Regions from separate parts of the Homo sapiens genome. Here regions 1, 2, 3, 4, 5 and 6 are each linked to region 7. The links are contacts of gene promoters, found by promoter capture Hi-C in blood cells and fetal thymus (Javierre and others, 2016). All regions are on one chromosome and are shown on one strand. The core of a region is centred on a gene start or on the middle of the fragment in contact, and the rest is flanking DNA. Distances in the headings are between cores, read along the strand shown. Region 1 overlaps CIPC (CLOCK interacting pacemaker). Region 2 overlaps SNW1 (SNW domain containing 1). Region 3 has its middle 65 kb from the start of LRRC74A. Region 4 holds the start of SLIRP (SRA stem-loop interacting RNA binding protein). Region 5 overlaps ALKBH1 (alkB homolog 1, histone H2A dioxygenase). Region 6 has its middle 18 kb from the start of SPTLC2. Region 7 holds the start of TMED8 (transmembrane p24 trafficking protein family member 8).

Region 1 (3,996 bases), core at 896-3,395, 270 kb before region 7:
GATGTTGTATCCTTCCCATTGCAACACATTTGGAGACTCATAAGTTAGTCTTACTCTTGGTGATGCTCTGGTTGGTTGATCACTTGGCTAAGATAGTGTGTACAGATTTCTTTACCATTAAAGTACCCTTTTCTCTTTGTAATTAATAAGTAATTTATGGGATAATACTTTATAATTGTGTGACTATCCTATTCCCCAACAAACTGTTTACCAGAGTTAGCATCCATTGATGATCTTTGCCTGAATCATTACATTGGCGGTTTAAAAGTGGTGATCTTGGCCGGGCGCGTTGCCTCACACCTGTAATCTCAGCACTTTGGGAGGCCGAGGCAGGTGGATTACCTGAGGTCAGGAATTCGAGACCAGCCTGACCAACATGGAGAAACCCTGTCTTTAATAAAAATACAAAATCAGCCAGGCGTGATGGTGCATTCCTGTAATCCCAGCTGCTCGGGAGGCTGAGGCAGGAGAACCGCTTGAACCCGGGAGGCAGAGGTTGTGGTGAGCTAAGATCATGCCATTGCACTACAGCCTGGGCAACAAGAGCGAAACTCTGTCTCAAAAAAAAAAAGGGGGTGATCTTCTAATTTTACCATTCTTTGTACGTCATTAGCTGACATTCTTCTGTAAAAAGTGCTTTCCCTCCTCCCTCTTCTTTTGAGTATCACTAATGTAGTCATGGAATTCTTTTGTAATTCAGTTTGTCAACCTGTTAAAATCATCATTTCTGATACTCAAATTGTCTCAAATTTGACCAGCAGGAGTCCCCTCAAGATAGCTCTTGTGTCTCGTTGACATGTCTCTGTTAGTGTTTGAGCACTTCTTTGCTTTCTGGGACAAGCAGCTGTCCAGGCTCATCTCGTATCTTCCCTGTCAAAGTCTTGGAATCAGCTGTTTCTCCAAGGACCCCTCATTTCCTTTATGTGCAGAATGGCATTTAGAAACCAAGATCTGGGCACTCAATATGTACATTGCTTCTGGGCTCATTTGTTTTCAGTCTAATGGTTCTTAACTAGAGGTGTACATTTGGATTACTTGTGTTTTGTGAAATACACCTACCATGGAACCAGGTAAATCACTTCAGTAGATCAAGGGAAGGATCCCAACATTTATGGTTTTTTAAAAGTATCACTGGAGATTCTAAATCATATTTCCATTGATGTATATCCTTCCAGTCATACAGTCTTCCTTAAGCTGGAGAAAATGCAATTGTTTTGAGGTTTACAGATTGGTTTTGTTTTTTTAATTGTAATTACATCTTGTGGTACCCAGAGCCTCTGAAGGTCTTAATCCTACCTTGGGCCATACTCGTCTCCTTTCTCAACATAGATTCTCGAAAGTAATAAACTAACTTTGAAACCTTGAACTCATTTCTCCTGTAGACTGATGATGATTACTTTCATGTGAGCCCTAATTGAGGCAGGTTTTTGTCTGTAAGAGAGTTAGAAAGGAAGTCAAACTCGTCCTAGGGCAATAATTCTTAATCTTTGGTGGAGGAGGGATTAATTATAGATCCCATTGAAAAGCCAATGAAAGCTAAAAGCCTCCTTCTCAATAAAATTCACAAAAACACATCACAAGTGTTGCATTCAATTTCAAGAGGTCTGTAGCTCCTTAGGAGCCTGGTTAAGAGCCCCTAGTCTAGAGCCTGAGTGAGTTGACCATTCTTCTGCCCACCAGATGGGAGCTCGGAATGTCTGAGCTCTGCAGAGCAGATGGAGTCCGAGGACATGCTGAGCGCCTTAGGCTGGAGCAGAGAAGACAGGCCGAGGCAGAACTCCAAAACTGCAAAGAATGCCTTCCCTACCCTGTCTCCCATGGTCGTCATGAAGAATGTGCTTGTCAAACAGGTGAGGAGGACTAATATCACCTAAAGTCTTTGCAAATAAAAATCTCTTAGCTTCCGTGTATAAAGGAAGAGATTTATATTCTCTGCCAAGGAGAGATTTTAGAAACAGACCATTAGAACCACACCAATGTGTACTTTCTGTCCTGGGGAGCGGATGTTATCTTTCAAGTGTGACACTGTTTTAAAAAGGAATATAAGAATCATGACATGCGTTCTCATTTTTCAGACAGTTAGGTTGTTTTATTTCTGTATTCATAGTTTGTCCAAAGAGACCCTGAAATGTATATAAAGGAACCAAGCAGAAATGGCATCACTTCAATGGTGCATTCTAACATATGGCAGAGTTTAGGGTAGAAACAAAAGATGCTCTTTTTAATATGGATTGCCCTGGGAATTTAGGAATGTAGAATGCATTTATCTCAGAAGTAGAGGCAATTTCCCTGTTTCTTATGTCATATACTGAGCATTTTCTTAGTAGTCAGCCAGAGCCTGTCATTAGTGACGAAGCTGCTCCTGGTTCAAGTATGGGAATACCAGCAGAATCCACACAGTGTTGTGGAGTGGAAACACATCCTGTTTGGGGCTTTATTACATAACTATGTTTATTATATGATTATTGTTTAGATATGAAAGAAAAGATTTAGATGAAAATCTAAGTTAAGCTCTAGTGTTTGAAACTGAGAACTTGATCATATGAACTTGGTTAAGTTAGAATAGAGAAGTCTGAGAATAGAAAAGATTGATTTCAGCCAAAGAAATTTAATCTTACCGTACTTTCCTCTGAAAATATATCAGTTTTCATATGGGTCCATTGATGAGGCTACTTGAAGATAGTGAAATTTTAAATCTGGCTTGAGTAGTTGACTTTTCCCCCCTTAGGGTAAAAGGTGAGAACATGGCTTTAACTTGACAGGAAATCTTAATGTCTTAGCTATTACCTAGTTGTATATGAGGAACACAAACTGATTTTCAACAAGGCAGACTGGTGAGTTCTGAAAAGGAATTTGAAGATTTTTGCTTGGTAAATCACATCTCAGCTGGAAGCATGGCTCTCCTTATTGAAAGGAAAAGAAAGAATAGAGACAGGAAACGGAGCCCACATGAGATTGCTCCGGCCCCACCAGTGCTGCCAGTGCTTCTCCTGGGCTTCCTTTCTCCCAGTTCTTTTTCTCCCTGCCTTCCTCTCTGGCTTCCTTGTCCCTTTCTTGTGTCTGTGTTTATATCCCTTCTTTGTTGTAGGCTAGGCTGGCAGCTCCAGAAGGCTGAGAACAGCCCACACACACAGTTACGGAGTGAGTAGGCTTTTCCAGCAGAGCCACATTCTTTAAGACAAAGACCCGCCAGAAAAGCTGCTGGGCCTGATCAGGAGCTAAGAGACTTGGGGACAAGCTGACCTAAGGGAGTAGTCTAGGAGTTTTGTTTCGTTTTTTAAAAACATACTAGAATCTAGCGTATTCTAAAATTAAAATAATGATACACATTTAAAACTCTGCATGTTGTGTAATGTCTTGATTATGGCTGCTTGGTTTTAGATATTTTTCTTTTGAGAGTCTGATTCCACCTCTGTCATTAGACAGTGTGATCTTGTACATAATTAACCACAATGGATATCAGTTTCTTCATCTTTAATATGAAGGGTTTATGTGAAATGATTCTGAGATCCTGTCCAAGTCTAAAATTTTGTTCTGTATTCCCTCAGGTGATTTCCACATGAATAATACAATTTGTAAAATCTAATAATTGGAACAAGTCAGCTAAGTATCTGTTAGGAGAGTGGGCATAACAGTAGCATTAGGAAGTACAGTCCAGTAAAATCATGGGAAAACAATGCATTAGATATTTTCCAGATCCATTTGCCTTGTAGGTCATCCCTAGAGAGGGCATGAAGTTTTGCTTCTGACTGAGCTGGAACAGGCTGATTTCTACTTCAAAAGACCTCTTGATTTTGGATCTCCTATGACAAGGAAATATGGTTTCTGGCCCTAGCATTGCTTGCCTTAGTATATTCCGGAGTATATTTGAACATCAAGAGGACTCTAGATCGTTCCAGCCTTTGCATGGGAAATGAACTGGCCTAAAGTTCCTAACCTTGCATCCAAGAAACTGAAATGTGTGCAAAATGGTGCGCGCATGTACATGTATGGGAA
Region 2 (3,802 bases), core at 1,155-3,654, 350 kb after region 7:
TTTGCGATTGAGTTCTTGTACATTCTGGTTATTAATTCTTTCTTAAATGGATATTTTGCAACCATTTTCTTCCATTCTGTAGGTGGCCTCTTCAGTCTGTTGACTGCTGTGCAGAAGCTTTTCAGCTTGACGCAATCCCATTTGTCTATATTTGCTTTTGCTGTCTGTGCTTTTGAGATTTTACCCAAAAAATCTTTGTCCAGACCAATGTCCTGAAGCATGTCCCCAGTGTTTTCATCTAGCAGTTTCATAGTTCAGGCCTTACATTTAAGTCTTTAATCCATTTTGATTTGATTCTTGTATGTGATAAGAAATAAGAGGTCTATTTTCATTCTTTTGCATGTGACTATTCGGTTTTCACAGCATTATGTATTGAAGAGACTATCCTTTCCCCAATGTATGCTTTGGGCATCAGCGTTAAAAATCCACGCATTGGCTGGGCATGGTGGTGGTTCATGCCTGTAACGCACTTTGGGAGGCTGAGGCGGGTGGATCACTTGAGGCCAGGAGGTTGAGACCACCCTGGGTGTAATGGCAAAACCCTGTCTCTAAAATAACACAAAAATTAGCCAGGCGTGGTGGTGCGTGCCTTAGTCCCAGTTACTTGGGAGGCCAAGGTGGGAGGATAGCTTGAGTCTGAGAGGCGGAGGTTGCAGTGAGCTAAGATTACACCACTGCACTCCAGGCTGGATGACAGAGTGAGACGTTGTCTCCAAACAATCAAAAATTCCATGCATTTATAGCCGATCCATTTATTTCTGGGTTCTCTATTCTGTTCCACTGGTCTATGTGTCTGTTTTTATGGCAGTACCATGCTGCTTTGGTTACTATAGCCTTGTAGTATATTTTGAAGCCAGGCAGTGTGATGCCTCCAGTTTTTTTTCTTTTTATTCAGGATTGCTTTGGTTATTTGGGGTCTTTTGTGGTTCCATACAAATTTTAGTATTGTTTTTTCTATTTCTTTGAAGAATGTCATTGGTATTTTGATAGGGATTGCATTGTGTCTAGAGCTAGCTTTGGGTAGTATGAACATTTTAACAATAATAATTTTTCCAATTCATGAGCATGGGCTATCTTTCCATTTTTAGAGTGTCTTCTACAATTTCTGTTTTTAAAATTTAATTTTTTTTCTTTTAAAAAGAGATAGGGTCTTACTGTGTTGCCCAGGGTGGTCTTGAACACCTGACCTCAAGTAATCCTTCTGCCTTGGCCTCCCAAAGTGTTGGGATTACAGGTGTGAGCCACCATGCCCAGCCTCTTCAATTACTTTCATCAGTCTTTTATCATTTTCTTTGTGGCGATCTTTCACTTCTTTGGTTAAGTTTATTCCTAGGAGGCTATGTGCAGTGACTCATGCCTGTAATACCAGCACTTTGGGAGGCTGAGGCAGGCAGATCACCTGAGGTCTGAGACCAGCCTGGCCAACGTGGTGAAACCCCATCTCTCCTAAAAATAAAAAAAATTAGCCAGGCGTGGTGGTGTGCGCCTGTTGTCCTAGCTACTCAGGAGGCGGAGACACAAGGATTGCTTGAGCCTGGGAAGCGGAGGTTGCAGTGTGCTGAGATCATGCCACTGCACTCCAGCCTGGGTGACAAGAGTGAGACTCCGTCTCAAAAAAAAAAAACCTTTATTCCTAGGTAGTTTTTGGTAGCTATTATAAATGGGACTGCCTTCTTGTTTTTCAGCTTGGGTATCCTATTTGTATATAGAAATGCTACAGATTTTTGTATGTTGGTTTTGTATCTTGTAATGTTACTGAATTCGTTTATCAGTTTTAAGTTTTTTGGTGGCATCATTAGGTTTTTCTAAATATAGGATCATACTGTCTCTGACAAAGTATAATTTGATGTCTTGTTTTTTTTTGTTTTTGAGATGAAGTCTTGCTTTGTTGCCCAGGCTGGAGTGCAGTGGCATGATCTCAGCTCGCTGTAACCTCTGCCTCCTGGGCTCAAGCAATTCTTGTGACTCAGCGTCCTGAGTAGCTGGGATTACAGGTGAACGCCATCATACCCAGCTAATTTTTGTATTTTTAGTACAGACGGGGTTTCATCATGTTGGCCAGGCTGGTCTTGAACTCCTGACCTCAAGTGATTGCCCATCTCAGCCTCCCAAAGTGCTGGGATTACAGGTGTGAGCCACTGTGCCTGGCCTTCCTTTCCAATCTGGATGCCCTTTATTTCTTTCTATTGCCTAAATTTCTCTGGCAAGGACTTCCAGTCCCATGTTGAGTTACAGTGGTGAAAGTGGGCATCCTTGCCTTCTTCCAGATCTCTGAGTAAAGACTTCCAATGTTTCTCCATTCAGTATGTCAGCTGTGGGTTTGTCATATATGGCCTTAAGTATTTTTAGTTATGTTCCTTCTAAGCCCACTTTGTTGAGAGTTTTTATCATGAAGGGATGTTGAATTTTTTCAAATGCTTTTTCAGTTTCTACTGAAATGATGCTATGGTTCTTATTCTTGGTTCTATTAATGTGATGTATCACATTTACTGATTTGCATATACTGAACCATCTTTGCATCCTTGGGATGAAGGATAGTTCAGTTGATTATGATGAATGATATTTTTTAATGTGTTGAAATCTGTTTGTTAGAATTTTGTTAAGGATTTTTGCATCTAAGATTATCAGGGATGTTAGCCTGTGGTTTTCTTTTTTGTTGTATATTTGTCTAGTTTTGGTGTCAGTATACTAATGACCTTGTAGAATGAATTTGGAAGCATTCCCTTCTCTTCAATTTTTTGGAATAGTCTGAGTAGAACTGGTATTTAGTTCTTTAAATGTTTGGAAAAATTCGGCAGTGAAGCTGTCAAATCCTGAGCTTTTCTTTCATGGGAGCAATGTTAATTGTTAAAAAAAAAAAAAAAATTAGTGTAGAATCTAGGTGGTAGGAGATACGGGTGTTCATCATATAATTCTTTCAGCTTTTCTGTATGTTTGAAAATGTTCATAATAAAATGTCAGGAAAGGCTGGGTGTGGTGGCTCATGCCTGTAATCCCAGCACTTTGAGAGGCTGAGGCAGGTGGATCACCTGAGGTCAGGAGTTTGAGACCAGCCTGGCCAATATGGTAAAACCCCATCTCTACTAATAATACAAAAAATTAGCTGGGCATGGTGATGGGCACCTTTAATCCCAGCTACTTGGAAGGCTTAGGCAGGAGAATTGCTTGAACCCAGGAGGCGGAGGTTGCAGTCAGCTGAGATTGCATCATTACACTTCAGCCTGGGCAACAAGAGCGAAACTCCGTTTCAAAAAAACCAAATAATAATAATAATAAAAAAGTCAGAAAAAAGGAATTATGCATAATGTTTCCCTTATATTTTCAAAGATTCTATTGAATAAAGAACTGTCAGCTTATTTCCCTTAGGGGCTGGCTGGATCTTGATTTCCACTGCATTTATATCTATCTTCATTTTTTTCTACCCTCGCCAGTCTGAGGGAATGGAGTACAGTTAAGAGCATAAGATTTGGAGCAAGCCTGTCTGGATTCAAATCCTGTTTCTATAGCCAATTAACCATGTGACCTGCGCAGATTACTTAATACTATAAGCCTTAGTTTCCTCCTCTGTAAAACAGTCACAATAATAGTATCACTACATAGGGTTATCCCAGGGATTATGAGATAATGCAAATAAAGTACTCAGAGTGGTGCCCACCATAAGAAGCACCTGATAAATGTTAGTTTTTACTACTATCTGGCAAGAGATTCATTAAAATTTTTAATTTCTTGAGAACGATTCTGTTGTCTTTTTCTTATTAGTTTAGAGAACTCAAATGCAGTAAGTTTTACTTCTAATTATCTT
Region 3 (4,063 bases), core at 378-2,877, 490 kb before region 7:
CCCCTAATTGCCCCCAAAATGGTCTTTCCTCAACACTGAGGCAATGGGTCTGGCCAGAGGTGATATTCACAAATTTTAACAACCTGCACAGCAACACAGCCCCAGCAATCAGAATGGACATTCCAACTGCGTTAGGATCCCGGAGGTCCGCTGAGATGCTCTTTTACTTGCTGGATTCAGAAGAAGTCTTGGGGTCCCAAGGAAAGCAGGCTAGGATGATGAAAGAGTATTCAAGGGGCTCAGGGATGGCTGTTTGCTAACTAGAATGAAAGTATTTCAATACATTAACAACACTGTATTGGTTGGCTGTCAGCCCTAGAGCCAGGAATCTCCTCGCCAGGGGAGCCGAAGGAAAGAGACCCATCCTTCTCCTTTATTATTATTATTATTTTTTTATTTTTTATTTTTGAGACGGAGTCTCTCTCTGTCACCCAGGCTGCAGTGGTGCAATCTTGGCTCACTGCAAGCTCTGCCTCCCGGGTTCACGCCATTCTCTTGCCCTGTGTGCTAAGCAAAAGAGTTAGGACTTAATCTTGAAAGTCATGGGTAGCCACAGAAGGATTCTAGAAGGAAAATTATTTGATCAGGTTTTCATTTTCTCTTTTTCTTTCGTTCTCTCTCTCTCTCTCTCTCTCTCTCTCTCTCTCTTTCTTTAGCTCACTGTAACCCAGAATTCCTGGGCTCAATTGATCTTCCCACCTCAGCCTCCCGAGTAGCTGGGACCACAGGCACCTTGCTAACAGATTTTTATTTTAGAAAGATTACTTTGGCCAGGCACGGTGGCTCATGCCTGTAATCCCAGGACTTTGGGAGGCCGAGGTGGGTGGATCACCTAAGGTCAGGAGTTTGAGACCAGCCTGACCGACATGGAGAAACCCTGTCTCTACTAAAAATACAAAAAAATTAGCCAGGGGTGGTGGCATGTGCCTGTAACCCCAGCTACTCGGGAGGCTGAGGCAGGAGAATCGCTTGAACCCAGGAGGCGGAGATGCAGTGAGCCGAGATTGTGGCACTGCACTCCAGCTTGGGTGACAGAGTGAGACTTTGTCTCAAAAAAAAAAAAAAAAAAGAAAAAGAAAAAGAAAAAGAAAGATTACTTTGGCAGTGATATGAAGGGTAATTTGGAAAGTGGTATATTAGTTATCTATTGCTACATAGTGTATTATCTCAAAACTTAGCAGCTTAAAACAATGAATATTTACTATTTCACATGGTTTCTGAAAGTTAGGAATCTGGCAGCAGCTTGGTTGTCATTCAGGGCTTCCTACGAGGTTGCAGACAAGCTGTCTAAAGGCTTGACTCGGCCAGCAGATGTGCTTCTAAAATGGCCCACTTCGATCCGGCTATGATATCTGTCACACCATTGATTGCCAGGGTTGATTCAGCTGATCTGGATGGTGCGGCAGGTGTCCCCTTCCTCTCTCACTGCTCCACATATGTCCTTCCCGAAGCTGTGCGCTAGGTTGAAGAGGACGACCTTCCCCGATAGAGGGCTGTTCTTTGGTCAAGGGTATGTGAGTGGCTGTGCTCCCCTGCTAGAACCTCCAAACATGGCCCACTCATCTGCCATTCACAGAAGGCCTCAGTTCCTCACCCCATGGGCCTCTCCATGGTGCTGCTTGCAACATGGCAACGAACATTGGAGCCAGTGATCCAAGAGGGAACATGGGGGAAGTCCCAGTGCTATATGACCCAATCACATACAATCACTTCTGCCATATTCAATCTGTTAGAAGTGAGTCAGTAAGTCTAGCCTCCACTCAAGGAAAGAGGAATGAACCTCCATCTTTGGGAGGGAAACCTGTTGAAGTTCTGCAGATATATTTTAAAACTGCAGGCCAGGTGTGGGGCTCACGCCTGTAATCCCAGCACTTTGGGAGGCCGAGGTGGGTGGATCTCCTGAGGTGAGGAGTTTGAGACCAGTCTGACTAACATGGTGAAACCCTGTCTCTACTAAAAACACAAAAATTAGCTGGGCATGGTGGCACATGCCTGTAATCCCAGCTACTTGGGAGGCTGAGGCAGGAGAATCACTTGAACGCGGGAAGTGGAGTTTGCAGTGAGCCGAGATCACGCCATTGCACTCCAGCCTGGGCAACAAGAGCAAAACTGTCTCAAACAAACAAACAAACAAAAAAACCCTGCAAGGTGGTTAACTAGCCCATAGGCAGAGAGACCAGTTAGATTACAGGAGTGTACCAGGAGAGAAATGTAATGGTCTGAACCAAGACAGGAGCACTGGAATGGAGAGGAGGGGCATCTTGAAAAGTTGTTACTAGAGAGATGGCTTATGGGGTGCAGGGAACTGTGATAGGCCAGGGCCAATTGGCAGGAGCAGCCTTTGGAGCACACGCCCTTGGAGGCAATACCCCAGACATCCAAGGTCAGTCTGAACTGCCTCCACCTGCAGACAGAAGGGTGGTGGGCAATGCTTGACCAACAGGCCCCCGAAAATCTTGGATTATGGTAGGTTTCTGCAGCAGCTTGGGGGTGGAGCCAGCACTAATCAGACTGGAACTTCCTGGACCCCAGTGGTGAGAGCCTCCAGAATAAGATTAGGATGAAAACAGCTCCCCCCTAAACCACACAGAACACAGGAACTGCTGGTAGACAATCATAACGGCAAAGCAACACATTCTGAGTCAATATGTCAATGACAATAGCTTCACCAAACATTCTGGATGTGGCAAGTATCTGTGTTCACTCACTCAACAAAGATTTGCTGAATGTCACCATGTCCCAGGCATTCTGCCAAGCCCTGAAGAGAAAACCTAAGATTTTTTTTCTAATTTTATTTATTTATTTTTTAGTTATTTTTATTTTTATTTTAATGGAGACAGGGATCTTGCTAATGTTGACCACTCTGGTCTCAAACTCTTGGCCTCAAGCAATCCTCCTACCTCAGACTCCTAAGGTGCTAGGATTATAGGCATCACAGTGCCAGGCAAAACTAGGATTTTTTTTTTTTTTTTTTGAGACAGAGTCTTGCTCTGTGCCCAGGCTGGAGTGCAGTGGCGTGATCTCAGCTCGCTGTAACCTCTGCCTCCTGGGTTCAAGCAATTCTCCTGCCTCAGCCTCCCCAGTAGCTGGGATTACAGGAATGCACCACCACGCCGAGCTAATTTTGTTTTTTTAACGGACTTTTGCTCTTCTTGCCCAGGCTGGAGTGCAATGGTGCAATTTCAGCTCACTGCAACCTCCGCCTCCCAGGTTCAAGCGTTTCTCCTGCCTCAGCTTCCCGAGTAGCTGGGATTACGGGTGCAAGCCACCACATCCAGCTAATTTTGTATTTTTAGTAGAGATGGGGTTTTACCATGTTGGCCAGGTTGGTCTTGAACTCCTGACCTCCAGTAATCCACCCCCCCTCAGCCTCCCAAAGTGCTGGGATTATAGGCGTAATTTTTGTATTTTTAACACAGATGGGGTTTCGCCATGTTGGCCAGGCTGGTCTCGAACTCATGACCTCAGGTGATCCACCCACCTCGGCCTCCCAAAGTGCTGGGATTACAGGCATGAGCCACTGTGCCCGGCCCAAAACTAGGATTTAAAATAAAATCAGACTGCTCAACAGTGATGCTGAAAGCTAGAAGACAATGGAACAATACTTTGAAAGTTCTGAAAGAAAATTATGTCTAACCTGCAATTTTATATCCAGCCAAACTATCAATCAGCATGTGAGGAGAGTAAAAACATGCAAGGCTTCAAAATTTTTACTTCTAATGCACCCTTCCCCAGGAAGATATGAAAGACTTGTTCCACCAAAGAGAGAGAGAAAGAAGTCTCAGGGTAATGGAAAAGAAACAACTCTAAGATGCCAGCCAAGTCAACAAGTTCAATTTGAAGCAAGAAAGTCTTCAGGAGGGAGGTCTTTAAGAAAGAGAACAAAAACTCTTGTGCCAGGTGCAGTGGTTTACACCCGTAATCCCAGCAGTTTGGGAGGCCAAAGCAGGTGGATCACCTGAGGTCAGAAGTTTGAGATCAGCCTGGCCAACATGGTGAAACCTCGTCTCTACTAAAAATACAAAAAAAAAAAAAAAAAAAAAAAAAAATTGAGGTCTCACTC
Region 4 (3,986 bases), core at 1,404-3,903, 330 kb after region 7:
GGGGTCTTGCCATGCCCCAGGCTGGTCTCGAACCCCTGGGTTCAAGCGATCCACCCGCCTCGGCCTCCGAAGTGCGGGATTACAGGCTTGAGCCACCGCTCCCGGACTGTGTTCCCCTTCTTAATCTCCATGGGGAAAAGCTGAGAGAGAGAACGGTGCCTGTATTCCATATATACTTGTTTGCCATTTATTTTCAACACGGAGGGATTCTCAGAATCCTTCAATGACCTCCTTCTAAAAGAGCCAGAGGAGAAGACAGGGACTAGTTTTACGCACAGTGGCTTAACAAACAGCGCCGCATCCCTGTCAGTTCTGGGATTCCTCGGGAGTGGTTTTTTTTAAGCTGCAGAAGTCTACCCTACCGTCTACAAAGACGTTCTATGGGGTTTTACAAAAACCCAAACAGAAATGTGAGGAGACAGTTACAGTAAGAAATAAACACGGATTCCCAGGCTCTTTTGACTGAGCGCCCCCGCCAGGAATGGCCGCCTAAAGAAACAGGCATCTCAACGCTTTATTGCTAAGTGTGACGGTTAGTGGGGAGTTCGACTCTGCAGCCAAAGGAGGTCAGGAATCGTTCAATAACAATCGGTCTGGAGGTGAAAAGAGGCGAAGAAGACACGTAAGTCCCTCCAAGACGCGGGGCAAAGCGATGGAGAGACGCGCGCCACTCCTCTCTCTGTACCTTTTGGGCACCAGGACCCTTGCCACGGGCTGCGTGGGCCGCCGAGAAGTCGATGACCCCTTCCAGGTCTGCGGTCCCGGGCCGGCTCTGACGGTAGAAGCGGAAAAGTTTCCGAAAGGCGTCCTCCCCGGGCTCAGTCGCCAGAGTCGCCACAGAGCCCACGGCCGCTGCCATCTTCCCCATCTCGCGGCCTATACCCTCTGATCCGGAAGCAGATTCTCTCGTGTTCCGGATCCGGAAATTTTTTCCGGGGCCGCGACCTCGGCTCGAGAAGGTGCTTTAGTCTGAAGATGGCGGCCTCAGCAGCGAGAGGTGCTGCGGCGCTGCGTAGAAGTATCAATCAGCCGGTTGCTTTTGTGAGAAGAATTCCTTGGACTGCGGCGTCGAGTGAGTGATGGAGATGTGGGAGTAGTGGAATTTTTAGGTCCAAGTGATCCTCAAAGCTTCTGCTTTTTGCAGGGTACTTAAGTCAGCGTGGTGGCTGAATTAGGAGACTGCTCCTGAGCATGCAAGTGAGCAGAAAGAAATTTTGTTTGCAGTTAACCGTTTAGGGATGTCCCTTGAGCTTTTGGGGTCACGAATGCACCGGCTCTTGCCTTTAGGAGTGATTTGGTGTAAAGATTTATTACTTGGTAACCAAGATTTACAATTTAGAAGGGATAATTTTGACTGTAGTGTGGAGGATGGATTCAAGGTGGCAAGATTGTAGGCGTGCAGAGGAGCTAAAAGGCAATTTCATTAATTTACTTAAAACGTGAGGACCTGAATTAGGGCGATGGTAGAAGGATGGTGGTCAGATGCATTAATGTTTTAAAAGCAAATTAGATGCCGTTTCGTGATGGCTTAAGTGGGAGAAGTGTACGGAATAAAGGAAAGGGAGAAATGATTTCTGGGTTTTTAGCATTGGTGAATTGTTTGTTTAGAAGTTAGGAGCAGGCCAAGAGAAGATGAGTAAAGTTTGAATGTGTTGACTTTGAGAAACTTGTGAGGTTTCCGTCAGGCAATTGGACAAAGGTTGTATATCATTGTGGCTGAGAAGTGGACTCCGAAGCTAGACCGTTGGGGTTAGAATTCCAACTTGGCCATTTAATCGTTGTTATCACTTGAATAACTGAAGTTAGTATGGGAAAAGGGCTCACAACTGGGCCTCAGTTTACTCATCGATAAAATGGAGTCAATAATACCCAACTCATAGGATTGTTGAGAGGATTGAGTTTATATGCAAACTTCTTAGACTTGTGTTAGATACAGTGTAAGTACTCAGCAAATGATAGTTATTTTCACGGTAACTAAAATTGAAACTTACGGGAGAGGCCTAGTCTACAGATAAAGGTTGGAATAATTAGTTCTGAAATCTTTCACCACCTTCAATTTTTGTCAGCTGCAGTTTTGAGATGAGGTTTTTATATTTGCTTACCAACATGTAAACATTCGTGGTCACTCTTTTTGTAGATATTCATGTTTCAGGTCAACCCCTGGAAACAAAATGGAGCAAGATTTAGTTTCTTCTAAGTTTTTAGTGGCTCAGATGTGAGTAGTAGAATGGGAAATAGGTTGGTTTGTGCCCCGTGTTTTAAACATGTGGTTGGTGAAGACCAAGCCCAGTAAAGTCTCCCGTAGTCCCTGTGAAACTTTATGGAAAGGCTGAGGAGTTTCATTAGCATCTTGCGGATGCAAGTTTCCAGACAATAAAGGGCTAGTTTAAAACCCTTAAAAAGAGTCAGCATTATGTACAGCTTCGAAACAGTTTCTCTTTGTTGTTCCATTGATTCAGCAAATATTTATTTGAGTATCTATTCTGTGGTAGGCATTGTTCTTGGTGCTTGCAGCTGTTTTTCCTTCACCATTTTAGGCAATTTAGGAAGAGGGTTACCTTCCAGAGCTGGTTTGTTTTGAAATCAGTGTCTTCTAGGACTTTAATTATCTGGTATAAAACATATGTTTAACATTATTTTGTTCTCCAGTATCATATTCTGTGAGACCTTGATCTTGCCAGTTGGTTTGACTTAACCATTAGAGCCCTTCAAAATTTAGTCTCTGTGGATTGTTGGAAGGATTAGTGGACTTTTACTTATTCATTTAGCCAATATTGAGGCCCTGCTGTTTATTGGTCACTGTAAACATAGTGGTTTATATGCTGAGGGAGCTTACAATTAGTGGTGGGGATGAAGAGACTTAGAACAAATATAGGCAATTGTTGAACCAGTGAGGTTTTGGTGAACTAGGAGAACTAAATAGATATTATAAAAAGTAAATCAGTGAAGTACAAGCACTGTAGTTCAGAAGAGAAACAGATCGTGTAGTTTTTAGTCTTTAAGATTATATACTCTAAATCTTTGAAGTCTCACAGGGCTGGTACATTGTCTTGTACTGTGATAGGAGCCCAATAAAGTAATACTCAGTGGATGTACTTGGTTTGGGTCTTGAAGGATAGTTATAGTGTTACAAGTTAGCCAGGGGGAGATAGGATTACCAACATATGGAGGGGAGAGAACAACATATGCAAAGAGGGTAACCCGCAGGACAGATAAAGATAATTCAATTAGTTGTACTAGAGAGTAACTAGGGGCTAGCAGTGGGAAATAAGGCAGGAAGGGTAGGTGAGGGCAACTCAACACATTTTACTAAATTGTGAAAGACCAGTAAGTTGGGATTTTATTTGGAAATCTTCAGTATACCGGGAAACACACTGGATTGTAATTTGTCTTTTTCTTCATTGTGATCTGCTCACAGGGATCATAGTCCACATAGCACAGTAACTGGTATGAAAACACTCGATATTTGCTGAGGATGGAGACTGCAGCCAACTCAACAACTTCTCTGTCCATCTCACCACCAAGTCTGGTACATTATGGCTTTATAGTCAGTACCATAGCTGCTTCCTAAATCTTAAGCCTTTAAGGAAATGCAAAGTAGTTCCTGTCCACAAGAAATCTGGTGACCCTGTCTTTCTACAGTCTAAGATAGAGAATCCAAAATATAGTAACTACTTTTAATGTTTTCTTCTGCCACACAGGTCAGCTGAAAGAACACTTTGCACAGTTCGGCCATGTCAGAAGGTGCATTTTACCTTTTGTAAGTATTAAGGAAAAGTAGGTGGGAGGTGGGGATGGCTAATGGGTACAAAAAAAATAGAATGAATAAGACCTATTTGATAGTACAACAGGGTGACTATGGTCAATAATAATTGTACATTTTAAAATAACTCAGAGTGTAATTGGATTATTTGTAACTCAAAGGATAAATGCCTGAGGGGATGGATACCCCATAAGTCAAAGGATAAATGCTTGAGGGGATAGAT
Region 5 (3,880 bases), core at 639-3,138, 320 kb after region 7:
CACAATGAAGATGTTTACACATAACTCTTTTTTTTTTTTGAGACGGAGTTTCACTCTTGTTGCCCAGGCTGGAGTGCAATGGCGTGATCTCGGCTCACCGCAACCTCCGCCTCCCGGGTTCAAGTGATTCTCCGGCCTCTGCCTCCTGAGTAGCTGGGATTATAGGCATGCGCCACCATGCCCGGCTAATTTTGTATTTTTAGTAGAGACGGGGTTTCACCATGTTGGTCAGGCTGGTCTCGAACTCCTGACCTCAGATGATCTGTCCAACTCGGCCTCCCAAAGTGCTGGGATTACAGGCATGAGCCACCGTGCCCGGCCTGCACATAACTCTTGTACACTTTTACAACAATCTCTAGCTACGCCATTCACTTTGGAAAAAAAAGAACAGAATTGAGGTACTCTAATTTTTTGAACAGTCCTTAAGTTCAAGTATTTTTTTTTAAATAATTTTTGTTTTTGCTTAAGTTCAAGTATTTCTTCTTCATTTCCTATTTAAAGTTTTTTCTTCCCTGACTATAGAATTCTAGAAAATTAAAACCAAAAGGATCTTAGAGGTCCTTTACTTCAGTGGTTCTCAATGTCAGAGGATGTTATGATACCTAATCAAAATCTCCAGGGGAACTGTTTTGAACTCAACAGACTCTCTCCTGTTCTGAGAGACTCTGGCAAAGTTGGGAGAGCTGCCAGGTACTGTCCACATGACCCTGACTGCCCATGATTCAATTACCTTGAATGGCTTATCCAGTCCAATACCTTCATTTCTTACATGAGGAAACTGAAGCACGTATCACATAGTGATACAATGAAAACTTGGCCTTAATCGATTTTCAGTGCTGCCAGTACAATGTCTTGAGCATATCAATTTCTTCCAACCCTTGACAACATAAGGTACGACCATCAAATTTTTTATTTCTGCTAATTTATTAGACCAAAAAAAAGGTATCTCACCATTGTTTACAGGATGATTTATTACAGAGATTCATCTGAGCTATCTTAAAAGACAGCTGGGATTTCTGCAGAGTCATATATCAGAAGGAAAAAAAATTACTTGAAAACACAGGCTGGTTTAATAGCAGTAGGTTCTCTTGGACTAATTTTACTTAACCACGATCTTCCTTTCCCCTGCTCTCAGTTGCGAAGAAGACACTACTAAAAGCTCATGGACAGGATTTTCCTCACTGCTCCTGTTGATACCATAACCTATAGACCAAGGTTTAAAAAAAACCACTGAATTTTACTTTTCCTTTCCCCTTAAGAAAATCTTCTCTTTACTCTGTTAGAATCGGCATGACAGTTTCTGAAAACTACAAAATTAAGGCCACGTAACACCAAACGGGACACAAAGTTGGTAAAATGGTTTTAACAGGCACTTTAAAGGACTTCTCACGTATTATCTTGTTTAATCCTCATACTATTCAATAAGGAAAGAACTGTTATGAGACACAGAAAGGTGAAGGAACTTGCTCAAGGTTACACAGCTATTAAGTGGTGGAGCTGGGATCTGAACACAGTCAGTCTGACTCCAGAACTAGTGCTCTACATTAGTGGTTCCCAACCTTTTTGGCACTGGGGACCAGTTTCATGGAAGAGAATTTGTCCATGGATGGAGTGGGGATGGGGGGTGGTTTGGGGATGAAAACTGTTCCATCTCAGATGAACAGGCATTAGATTCTCAATAAGGAGTGCGCAACCTAGATCCCTTGCATGTACAGTTCACAACAGGGTTCGCGCTCCTATGAGAATCTAATGCTGCTGCTGATCTGACAGGGGGCGAAGCTCAGGTGGTAATGCTTGGCTGTCTAGGTCTGCTGCCCCATGATTGGGGACCCCCCTGCTCTACATCACTAAAACCTTTACCATCTGGCCCAAATCCACCTCTCCTCCTTCATGTTTTACCAATTCCACCTACTCATGGCTTCCAGGAAGCATTTTCTATAATCTACCTCCAGCCTAGCTACTTAAGTGACCATTCCCATTATATCTTATAATGTCTGTCCCTGCACCTACCAAATTGTATTTATTTATTTATTTATTTATTTAATTTATTTATTTTTAGAGACAGTCTCTCCTCAGCCTGCCGAGTAGCTAGGACTACAGGCACACACCACTATGCCCAGCTAATTAAAAAAAAAAATTTTTTTGGGGCCGGGAAGTGCCTTACACCTGTAATCCCAGCACTTTGGGAGGCCGAGGTGGGCAGATCACCTGAGGTCGGGAGTTCAAGACCAGCCTGAACAACATGGAGAAACCCCTACCTCTACTAAAAATACAAAATTAGCCGGGTGTGGTGGCGCTTGCCTGTAATCCCAGCTACTCTGGAGGCTGAGGCAGGAGAATTGCTTGAACCCGGGAGGTGGAGGTTGCAGTGGGCCAAGATCATGCCATTGCACTCCAGCCTGGGCAACAAGAGCGAAACTCCGTCTCAAAAAAAAAAAAAAAAAATTTTTTTTCATAGAGATGGGGTCTTGCTATGTTGCCCAGGCTGGTAACTCCAGGCCTCAAGTGTTCTTCTCACCTTGGCCTCCCAAAGTGTTGAGATTACAGGCATGAGCCACCAAGCCCAGACCCAAATTGTATCTAATTATCTGTTTGTAGGTTTTTGAACATAACTAAAGTACAAATTTCTTGAAGACAGGAACTGTTTTTTATCTGCCTTTGAATCTCTAACACTAAAGCACAGTGTCTGACACATAGCAGAAACTCAATAGATAACAACTGAATAAACGTAAGAAAGTACACATCCTATGCTCTTGTCTCGCAGGACGATTTATTCTGTCTTAAATATTGTATCTTTGCTCAGGCTGCTTTCTCTACTCAGTAGAGACTTTTTACTTTTCTGACTGGTAAACCCCTACTCATTTTTGAAGATTAGTTCAAATGGACAGTGAAAGGAGGATAACCCAATAAAAAAATCATTTTTTCAGGCCGGGCTTGGTGGCTCACGCCTGTAGTCTCAGCACTTTGGGAATCTGAGGCAGGGGGATCACTTGAGGTCAGGAATTGAGACCAGCCTGGCCAACATGGCGAAACCCCATCTCTACTAAAAATACAAAAATTGGTGGGGCGTGGTGGTGGATGCCTGTAATCCCAGCTACTCAGGAGACTGAGGCAGGAGAATCGTTTTAATCCAGGAGGCAGAGGTTGCAGTGAGCTGAGATCGCGCCACTGCACTCCAGCCTGGGTGACAGAGTGAGACTCTGTCTCAAAAAACAAAAAACAAACAAACAAAAAATCATTTTTTCTTCGTTCACACTTCTACCCTGCCTGGAATAATTATTTCCTCCTCTATGCTCCCACAGTATTTTTCTAAACCGCATCATAACACTTTCTGAGCTCTACAGTAATTATTCTCATAGGTAATGCATTCTTGCCAGAGACTATGCACTACTGAGTGCAGGGAGGGTGCCTTTATCTTTCTGTGTCCAACGCCTAGCATCATGCCTGACACACTACTGACCCTCATTAAGTATTTGTGGAATGAATGAATGAATGTTGAAGCATGAAGGTGAAAATATTAGTTATTCTCATCAGGAACAACTGACCTATCATAAAACGGCTAGTACCACTGAATCCATCTAGGAGGGTAGAAGCAAAGAGCTTTCGATGTTACCTTTCCTAGGATACCAAAAGCCTTCAAAGGAACTCACTTTAAGTAGAAAAAAATGGCTGAAGCTAATGGAAATGGATCATGTGATGATTAATGAGGATGAACTCAATTATCTAAGCTATGATAAGCAAGTCTTTAAAATGGATCTCAATTTACTATAACTGTCAAAGCATCTGTCCAAATGTTCCTGGGGAAAGAATACAATTGTGCTGTTTTTGCTTGGAAACAATGAAGGGAAAAAAAAACCCAGCCAGTCACTTTTACTGCATT
Region 6 (4,265 bases), core at 1,482-3,981, 260 kb after region 7:
AGCTGGGACTACAGGCACCCACCAGCACATCTAGCTAATTTGTTTATGATTTCGTAGAGATGGGGTTTCACCATGTTGCCCAGGCTGGTCTCAAGCTCCTGCACTCAAGTGGTCCTCCTGCCTCAGTCTCCCAAAGTGCTGGGATTACAGGCATAAGCCACCATGCCCAGCCTGTAAAACCACCTTTTAAAAAGAGTTAAAACAAGACAATGATTGTCTGTGGATGACAAAAAGTCTTAAGGCCACCACAGTCAAAGACACAATTGACAAGGAAATGTGTTACCTCTGTGGTATGCAATAATTTAACATAACAATTACAATTATTACTGATAGCATATACTAAGTTATATCAGAATTACAGGAGTTTCACACAGTTTTGGAACACATACCAACAACCTATTTATACAAATACAGTTCAAAGAAAGCCAAATTTTACCTTTGCATTAGAGTACTATTGATGTTAAACCCAATTCTTAATAAAACCTCATAGACAAATCTATCCAATCTTAATTCATTTAACCATAGGTAAGATTCTCATAAAACTTTTATGACCCTTTATAGTTTTCTGTTAAAGAGCAGAACAATGCTCTAAGAAAACTATGTTATGCTTTTATTCCAATGTTCAATTTATGGATAAACTGAATAATATACCCCTTTAATTTTAGCCAATATGTTCACATACAGATTAATCTTTTGCAATCCTTCCACAATTTGCTCAAACCTTTGGCTTTATTTCAACTTAAAACTATCCTTTAACCCTCTAAACGAAGCAAAAAAAATTCACATTCTCATGCCTTCTCTTTTTTGTATTACTTATTTTGTTTTGTTTTGTTTTGCTTTTTTGAGGCAGGGTCTTGCTCTGTTGCCCAGGCTGGAGTGCAGTGGCATGATCTCAGCTCACTACAACCTCCGCTTCCCAAGTTCAAGTGATTCTCCTTCCTCAGCCCCCCGAGTAGCTGGAATTAAGGGTGTGTGCCACCATGCCTGGCTAATTCTTTGTATTTTTAGTAGAGATGAGGTTTCACCACGTTGCCCAGCTTGGTCTTGAACTCCTGACCTCAAGTAATCCACCTGCCTTGGCCTCTCAAAAGTCTAGGATTACATGCATGAGCCACTGCACCTGGCTTTCATGCCTTCTTGTAATCTTTTACCAAAAGCACATTCTACTTTTCTTATACACCTTGCATGGAAAACTGTTTTCTCCAGTAGTCTCAAGTGAATGTTACACAGTTAACTCTTTTTTTTTTCTTTTATTTTTGAGACAGAGTCTCACTCCATCACCCAAGCTGGAGTGTCATGGCATGATCTCAGCTGATTGCAACCTCTACCTCCCAGGTTCAAGCGATTCTCCTGCCTCAGTCTCCTGAGTAGCTGGGGCTACAGGTGCATGCCACCAGGCCCAGCTAATTTTTGTATTTTTAGTAGAGACAGGGTTTCACCATATTGGCCTACACTGTTAACTCCTAGCAACATTTACTTTTTATGAAAAACCTGGTAAGAAAACAATTCTAATTATGTACTAGCTTTGGAGTCTAGGACACTAGACGGAAGTGCAGATAAGGTCTGACTTTTTCCAGCATAGTTAGGGGGCATGACTAACTCTGTATGTGCCCAGGCCTTACCTAGAATTTAATGGCTTTTTTTTTTTTTGAGATGGAGTCTCACACTGTCACCCAGGCTGGAGTGCAGTGGCACGATCTCGGCTCACTGCAACCTCTGCCTCCCAGGCTCAAGTGATTCTCCTGCCTCAGCCTCCCAAGTAGCTGGGATTACAGGTGCCCACGACCACACTCACTTAATTTTTTGTATTTTTAGTAGAGACGGGGTTTCACTATGTTGGCCAGGCTGGTCTCAAACTCCTGACCTCGTGATCCATCCACCTCAGCCTCCAAAGGGCTGGGATTACAGACATGAGCCACTTCACCTGGCCAAATTTAATGGCTTTAAAGAAGGCAAGTTGTAAATTCCTTTCACGAATCTTTTCACAACTTATACAGACCATCTATGACATGGTTGGACTTTCTGACTTGTCCTAAATGTCTGTCTTTTTAAACAACCAGTTATTTTATTTTAGGACAAGAATTTACCATACAAGATCCTTTTTCATACAAAGTCTCTTTTCTTGTAACACTCTTTACCAAAAATACCTCTTTACCTTTATAACTTTTGAATTAGACAAAAGTTATTTTCTTTCTGTTAGGAAGTTATGGTTTGTTGCTGTGCAAGTCCTGTAAAATGGGAGCAGATAAAGAGGTTACCTATATATGGTAGAAGTTATCCCCCACTAAAGTGATTGCTCAGTTAGATTTCTTGTTCAGGCTTGTTTGAGTAAGTGTGGGCTATTTTTTTTTTTTTTGAGATGGAGTCTCGCTTTGTCGCCCAGGCTGGAGTGCAGTGGCGCCATCTTGGCTCACTGCAAGCTCCGCCTCCCGGGTTCACGCCATTCTCCTGCCTCAGCCTCCTGAGTAGCTGGGACTACAGGCGCCCACCACCATGTCCGGCTAATTTTTTTGTATTTTTAGTAGAGATGGGGTTTCACCGTGTTAGTCAGGATGGTCCCGATCTCCTGACCTCGTGATCTGCCCGCTTCAGCCTCCCACAGTGCTGGGATTACAGGCATGAGCCACCACGCCCAGCCAGTGTGGCCTATTTTTAAACCCCTAAGGTAGGACTGACCAGGTTAAAGTTATTGGTTAAAGATTTAGGTAGCTTTTCCATGAAACACAGGGCTATTAGAGAGAAAGATGAATTCAGACGTTGGGTAAATATTAAGCAGGCACCCATCTTGCTCCAAGTAAATGTGAATCTTTTCTTTTAGGGGGTGGGTGCCATTTGTCGCCATTACCCAATAGAATTTGGAGAGTCACTCAGAGAAGGAGGTTAGCATAGAGTAGGCAGCTCTTTTAAGGGGTGGCCTGCCCCTCCACACCTGTGGGCATTTCTCGTCAGGTGGAACGAGAAACTGAGAAAAGAAAGAGACACAGAGACAAAGTATAGAGAAAGAAAAGTGGGCCCAGGGGAACGGCACTCAGCATACGGAGGACCCACGCTGGCACTGGTCTCTGAGTTCCCTCAGTATTTATTGATCATTATCTCTACTATCTCGGAGAGGGAGATGTGGCAGGACAATAGGGTAATAGTGGGGAGAGGGTCAGCAGGAAAACATGTGAACAAATGTCTCTGTATCATAAACAAGGTAAAGAAAAATGTGCTGTGCTTTGATGCGCACATACATAAACATCTCAATGCATTAAAAAGCAGTATTGCTGCCAGCATGTCTCACCTCTAGCCCTAAGGCAGTTTTCTCCTATCTTGGTAGATGGAATATATAATCGGGCTTTACACCAAGACATTCCATTGCCCAGGGACGAGCAGGAGACGGATGCCTTCCTCTTACCTCAACTGCAAAGAGGCCTTCCTCTTTTACGAATCCTCCTCAGCACAGACCCTTTACAGGTGTCGGGCTAGGGGACGGTCAGGTCTTTTCCTTCCCATGAGGCCATATTTCAGACTATCACATGGGGAGAAACCTTGGACAATACCTGGCTTTCCTAGGCAGAGGTCCCTGCGGCCTTCCGCAGTGTTTTGTGTCCCTGGGTACTTGAGATTAGGGAGTGGTGATGACTTTTAACAAGCATGCTCTCTTCAAGCGTTTGTTTAACAAAGCACATCCTGCACAGCCCTAAATCCATTAAACCTTGGGTCCACACAGCACATGTTTCTGTGAGCACAGGGTTGGGGGTTGGGTTACAGATTAACAGCATCTCAAGGCAGCAGAGTTTTTCTTAGTACAGAACAAAATGGAGTCTCTTATGTCTACTTCTTTCTACATAGGCACAGTAACAGTCTGATCGCTCTTTCTTTTCCCCACACTCTTGAATGCAAAAGGGAAATTTGTAATTTCACTTGCCACCTCTGGAGTTTCCCTTGGCTTTCTCCTATTGAAGACAATGTCTGATTTGTTCCTAGAAGTGTTCTTAGAGAAAGGTCATATACCAGTTAAATTCTACCATTTTGCCTCTGGGCATATGTGGGCACATGCTTGAGCCCACTCACCCAACTCCCAAGGTCTTATTGGGAAGCTGATGAACACCAGTTTCAGGTGTTGCTATCTATCCAGAGACTACCTTTCCCTGGGCTGGCTCTGACCGATTATTATTTTAGAGAGACAGTTAACAACTGCCTGACCAACATCTGATGGTCTCCTGACACTCCTGGTTGGTGGAGGCCCTCTCCTGCCCCACTCATGTCTGACCAATTACCTA
Region 7 (4,112 bases), core at 963-3,462:
ACCATAACCTGTCTGCGAGTACCAATACTTGATTCATGGCCAATAAAAACAAACAATTATAGACTTCATCATAACAAGATGACAATTTCATCCAGACAGTAAAAACTTGCGCTAACTTGAACAGGTAAGTTAACCTTTCTCAGCTGTAGTTTGTTCCTCTGTAAAATGGGAAGAAAATGATTGTTGACATGACTAAATCAGAAAATATAAATTTTTTTCCACCTCTGGCACAGAATAAGCATTCAATATCTGTAGGTTATCATTACTATTATTTTATTAGCAACAAATCCTACCTCAAGAGGAAGAGCTTGCTCTGGGCTACTATAATAAACCCCTACATGACATTAAAAAAAAAAATTATCACCCTGCATTCTGAGGGTAAGAGGAAGGAAAGTAAGCATCTCTACCAATGTCCTGGGAGGAAGTGAATGCAGGAATGAATTAGATGTCAGGGGGAAAAAAAAACACACTCATCTATCTAAAACGCGTGGGTACGTTTGCCATAAACACATGAGAACCTAAAGGGGAAGTAAAAACATGCTTAATTTGTAAATACTGGCGCATGCAAGGGACAAGTGTTATAAGACTTACCTTTCTGTGTTTACTTGCTTAGTCTTTTAGACATTATGCTTAGAATTTCTACTGCTATGTTAAATATATGCCAACGATTTTTAATTTAATACAAAGCAGAGTTCGTAAGAAAAAAAGGCAAAATTTGTCAGGTGTTTTAAAGTAAAAGAATATAAAATCATGGGAAAGAGCTGGGTGAGTTGTGTGTGTGTTTGAATAAGGCAGCATTATGAGAGGGAAGATACTTGGGATCAGAGTAGAAGACAGAAAAAGGCACCATGTTGGAAGCCATACATCCAAGAACACCTCTGGCGGCACAGGAAGTTCAACTGAACAAAAAGAGACCTTACTGTCACAATGGTTGAGACGAGTATAGTGTGTACCATGGACTATACCCCAAATGCCTTAGACAAAGCAGCTCAAGTAATCCTCACAATAATCCTATGAGGCAGATATTTTTAGTAATCACATTTTACAGATGAGGAAACTGACGTTTCAGACTCCAATCCAGGCACCCTGGCTCCACAGTAGTGCCTCAACCATTATACTTTATGGTGTCTATTTTAATTTCAGACCTAGAAAATTAATTTATATTTGCTACTTAAATAAGACAAGTTCTCTCCCCTCTACCCTTTCGTATTTCAAAAGAGCATCCTTTCAGTTGCATCGTGTGTGGTGTTCAGGAGGCTGAAAGAAGAAAGTGTGATGGATGGACTCTTTTGTCTTTGGACACTGAAATAATACACACGGAGGAACTCGCGTTAGTAGAAATGGAGACGTCGTCCTGGACAAGAAGAGGATGAGGGTCTTGAGAATGAGGGAGGTAGGCCAAATTTTTAATTCCTGCTCTTGCTTTGGCTACTGTGTTCAAGCAAAAGACCCCAGACACTACCTATTTCAACTCTGCTTTTCATTTTTCCCACTCTAAGCGATGGAGAGGATGGCAGCAAGGCCAGGGGGCCTATGTGCAGGAAGGCTAGGGCGCAGTGGGCTTCTGGCAGAGGAAGGCAAGGCTGCCAACCCGGGTGGGGGCCGAGAGGCGCGTGGTAAGGCTGGGGCAGGGGACTGAGATGGGGATAGGGTGGGGAGCCAGAAGCAGGGGGCGGCGAGGCCAGTAGGGTTCGGGTCGGCAGTCTAGATGTGATTAGCAGACGGAGGTGGGACCCGAACCCCGGCTGAAGCTGAAACTGAAGCTGAAGAGGCGCCAGGGGCAGAGCCACCCTGTCACTACCATTTGGGCAGATCTCAGAAAGGAAGCGGGGCAGGAATCAAGGCATTTCGAAACAGGAGTGAGTAGAAAATAACCTCGAGCCCAGGGCCCGGGTGGTGGCAGCGGCGGGGAAGGGGCCCCGCGCGCGAAGGGGCTGCCGAGGTGGGTCCGCTCCGCGGGGAAGCCCAGGACAGAGCGCGGCGGAGGCTCGCGCCGTGGTGCGGGGCCCTGAGGCCGGGCGGCACCCACCCGCCAGCGCCCCGGCCTTGCGTACCTGAGGCGGCCGCCTGGCTCCCCTCCACTCCCTGGCAGTCCCCGACGCCGCCAGCCGACCCTGGGCGGGCTGTGGGGCTCCAGGAGCCCGGCCCCTCAGCCGCCTGCAGGTCAGACATCTGCAGCCCGCGCACGGAGCTCTCCGCTGCCAGCCGCGAGTGGCTCCGGAAACAGCCGAAGGCCGAGCGAGCGCCGAGCACAGCCGAGCGCAGCCTGCAGGCCGGAAGAAGCGGCGCGGCGGCCGCTTGAAAAGCTAGCTGACCCAGGGGCGGCCACAGGAGCTCTGGCCCGCTGAGGCTGGCGATGAGGCCGCAGGGAGGGTTACTGCGTGCTTGTGACAGACGATTTTTAAAGTCAGGGCTTGAAAGAACAAACAAAACCTGGGGAAGAGTCAGGAAGACACTGCCGGAAATCGTGGTATCCATAGAGACGCTATCGGAAGTTGGGGTTGCTAGGAAGCCGCGGCGCGTCTGCTAAGCTGCAAATGGCTGAAGTCCCGGAGGATTATGATTCCGGCCCAGATGAAGATGGAGAGCTGGAGCCTGAGAGGCCTGAACTGCCTGGACTTCATAAATTGTATGAAAATGCCGAACCAGACACCATGGCAAAGGCAGACTCGAAGCTACCAGCAGAGATTTACCAAGAGCCACAGCCAGAGACCGAGGAAGAGGACTTCAAAGAGGGGGAGCCAGACAGTGCTAAGAACGTGCAGCTGAAACCTGGCGGGACGTCCCAGGAAGGAATTGCCAAGGAGTCCAAGAGAGACGTACCAAGCGAAACTGAACCAGGGATACACCAAGAGGTAAAGTCGGAAACATCCAGAGAGATGGGAGAGTTTTTCAAAGATTTGGAGGCCCCTATGGATGAAACGCATAAAGAGTCAGACCTAGAGCCACCAGAGGAGGCTAAACCAAATGTTACAGAGGATGTGTTCCTAGAGTCAGCTATGGAAACAGATCCAGATCCAGTGCCACCAACGGAAACCATGTCTGAGGTTTCGGGGGCCACAGTCAGAGAGAGAAATTTAGAATTACTAGAGGAGGAGACTGAACCGGGGGTTCCAGAGGAATCACTTAGAGTGCAACATGAAGAGACAGGTCTAGAGCCTCCAGAGCAGACCAAACAAGATTTTCCAAGTGAGAAACTAGGAGAATCACTTGAAGAGACAGATCTTCAGCCACCAAAGATGACCAAACCAGAGACTCCAGAGGAGACACAAAGAGAGTCAACTGAGAAGAAAAGGACAGAGCCACCCGAGCAGGCTAGACTGGAATTTCTGGAGAAGGAACCAAGAAAGTCTAGTGAGGAGGCAGGTCTAGAGCCTCCAGAAGAGACTCAACCAGAGGTTCCAGAGGAGATGCAAAGAAAGGCAACTGAGGAGAAAGGGACAGAACTACCTGAGCGGACTAAACCAGACTTTCCAGACCACAAGCCAAGAAAGTCTACTGATGAGAACGTTCCTGAGCCACTAGAAGAGATCAAATTAGAGTTTCCTGAGGAAGAATCAAGAAAAACAAATGAGGAAACAATTCTAGAACAATCAGAAATGATGAAACCAGAAAGTCCAGAAGAGATAAGAAAGTCAAATGAGAAAAAAAATCCACAGCCACCAGAGGAGACTGGTCCAGTGCTACCACAGGAGATCAACCCACAAGTTGAAGAGAAAACACAAACAAAGCCAACTGAGAAAATTCTAGAGTTACCAGATGAAACCAAACCAAGGGAGACACATGTAGAATTTTCCAAGGAAGACAGGCCAGAACCAATAAAGTCTAAGTATTCTGTAGGAAACGATGAGCTAGAGCACCGTGAGCCTAAAAGAGGAAAGTTGTCACTAAGTGACAAATTTAGAAAAGAATATTACGCATTAGGATCTCTCAGAGAAAGTGAAGAATCAATTGGTACACATTATGAGTTTTTGCAACCACTCCAAAAATTGCTTAATGTCAGTGAAGAATGCTCATACTCAGATCCCTCAGAGTCTCAGACAGAATTAAGTGAGTTCGTTCATGAAAAGGAAGTTGTAGATTTGTCCCAAGAGTTGAAGGAACGGGTCTCT

What was found. The method cuts DNA at HindIII sites, captures the fragments that hold promoters and counts their contacts. A CHiCAGO score of 5 or more calls a contact.
Region 1: a fragment that was not itself captured here is called in contact with the fragment with the promoter of TMED8 in region 7 in 1 of 17 cell types (naive B cells); the score reaches 7.0 in naive B cells.
Region 2: a fragment that was not itself captured here is called in contact with the fragment with the promoter of TMED8 in region 7 in 1 of 17 cell types (naive B cells); the score reaches 5.3 in naive B cells.
Region 3: a fragment that was not itself captured here is called in contact with the fragment with the promoter of TMED8 in region 7 in 1 of 17 cell types (neutrophils); the score reaches 5.1 in neutrophils.
Region 4: a contact is called between a fragment that was not itself captured here and the fragment with the promoter of TMED8 in region 7, in 1 of 17 cell types (non-activated CD4 T cells). The highest score is 5.7, in non-activated CD4 T cells.
Region 5: a contact is called between a fragment that was not itself captured here and the fragment with the promoter of TMED8 in region 7, in 1 of 17 cell types (naive B cells). The highest score is 6.3, in naive B cells.
Region 6: a contact is called between a fragment that was not itself captured here and the fragment with the promoter of TMED8 in region 7, in 1 of 17 cell types (naive B cells). The highest score is 5.5, in naive B cells.

What each region holds. Positions count from the first base shown.
Region 1 is chr14:77,108,132-77,112,127 of GRCh38, forward strand. CIPC (CLOCK interacting pacemaker) reads left to right here. Exons shown (of 4, transcript NM_033426.3): 3 at 1,681-1,850. Among named protein-coding and RNA genes, the nearest start is that of CIPC, 12 kb to the left of the region's middle. The HindIII fragment of the contact is 6,167 bases long and covers 1-3,996 here.
Region 2 is chr14:77,725,203-77,729,004 of GRCh38, forward strand. All of the region lies in intron 10 of SNW1 (SNW domain containing 1), which reads right to left. Among named protein-coding and RNA genes, the nearest start is that of SLIRP, 19 kb to the left of the region's middle. The HindIII fragment of the contact is 4,579 bases long and covers 116-3,802 here.
Region 3 is chr14:76,888,937-76,892,999 of GRCh38, forward strand. It overlaps the pseudogene RN7SKP17. Among named protein-coding and RNA genes, the nearest start is that of LRRC74A, 65 kb to the left of the region's middle. The HindIII fragment of the contact is 7,667 bases long and covers 1-4,063 here.
Region 4 is chr14:77,707,137-77,711,122 of GRCh38, forward strand. SLIRP (SRA stem-loop interacting RNA binding protein) reads left to right here and starts at 967. Exons shown (of 4, transcript NM_031210.6): 1 at 967-1,072; 2 at 3,702-3,760. The coding sequence starts at 976. ALKBH1 (alkB homolog 1, histone H2A dioxygenase) reads right to left here and starts at 887. Exons shown (of 6, transcript NM_006020.3): 1 at 686-887. The coding sequence starts at 868. RefSeq lists an enhancer at 521-850. The HindIII fragment of the contact is 3,055 bases long and covers 1,127-3,986 here.
Region 5 is chr14:77,690,780-77,694,659 of GRCh38, forward strand. The region is part of intron 3 of ALKBH1 (alkB homolog 1, histone H2A dioxygenase); the gene reads right to left. Among named protein-coding and RNA genes, the nearest start is that of ALKBH1, 15 kb to the right of the region's middle. The HindIII fragment of the contact is 5,830 bases long and covers 1-3,880 here.
Region 6 is chr14:77,632,374-77,636,638 of GRCh38, forward strand. No RefSeq gene overlaps it. Among named protein-coding and RNA genes, the nearest start is that of SPTLC2, 18 kb to the left of the region's middle. The HindIII fragment of the contact is 7,970 bases long and covers 1-4,265 here.
Region 7 is chr14:77,374,882-77,378,993 of GRCh38, forward strand. It overlaps TMED8 (transmembrane p24 trafficking protein family member 8), which reads right to left and starts at 2,213. Exons shown (of 6, transcript NM_213601.3): 1 at 2,055-2,213. The coding sequence starts at 2,172. It overlaps SAMD15 (sterile alpha motif domain containing 15), which reads left to right and starts at 2,498. Exons shown (of 3, transcript NM_001010860.4): 1 at 2,498-4,112. The coding sequence starts at 2,538. RefSeq lists a silencer at 1,791-2,220 and an enhancer at 2,271-2,480. The HindIII fragment of the contact is 9,682 bases long and covers 1-4,112 here.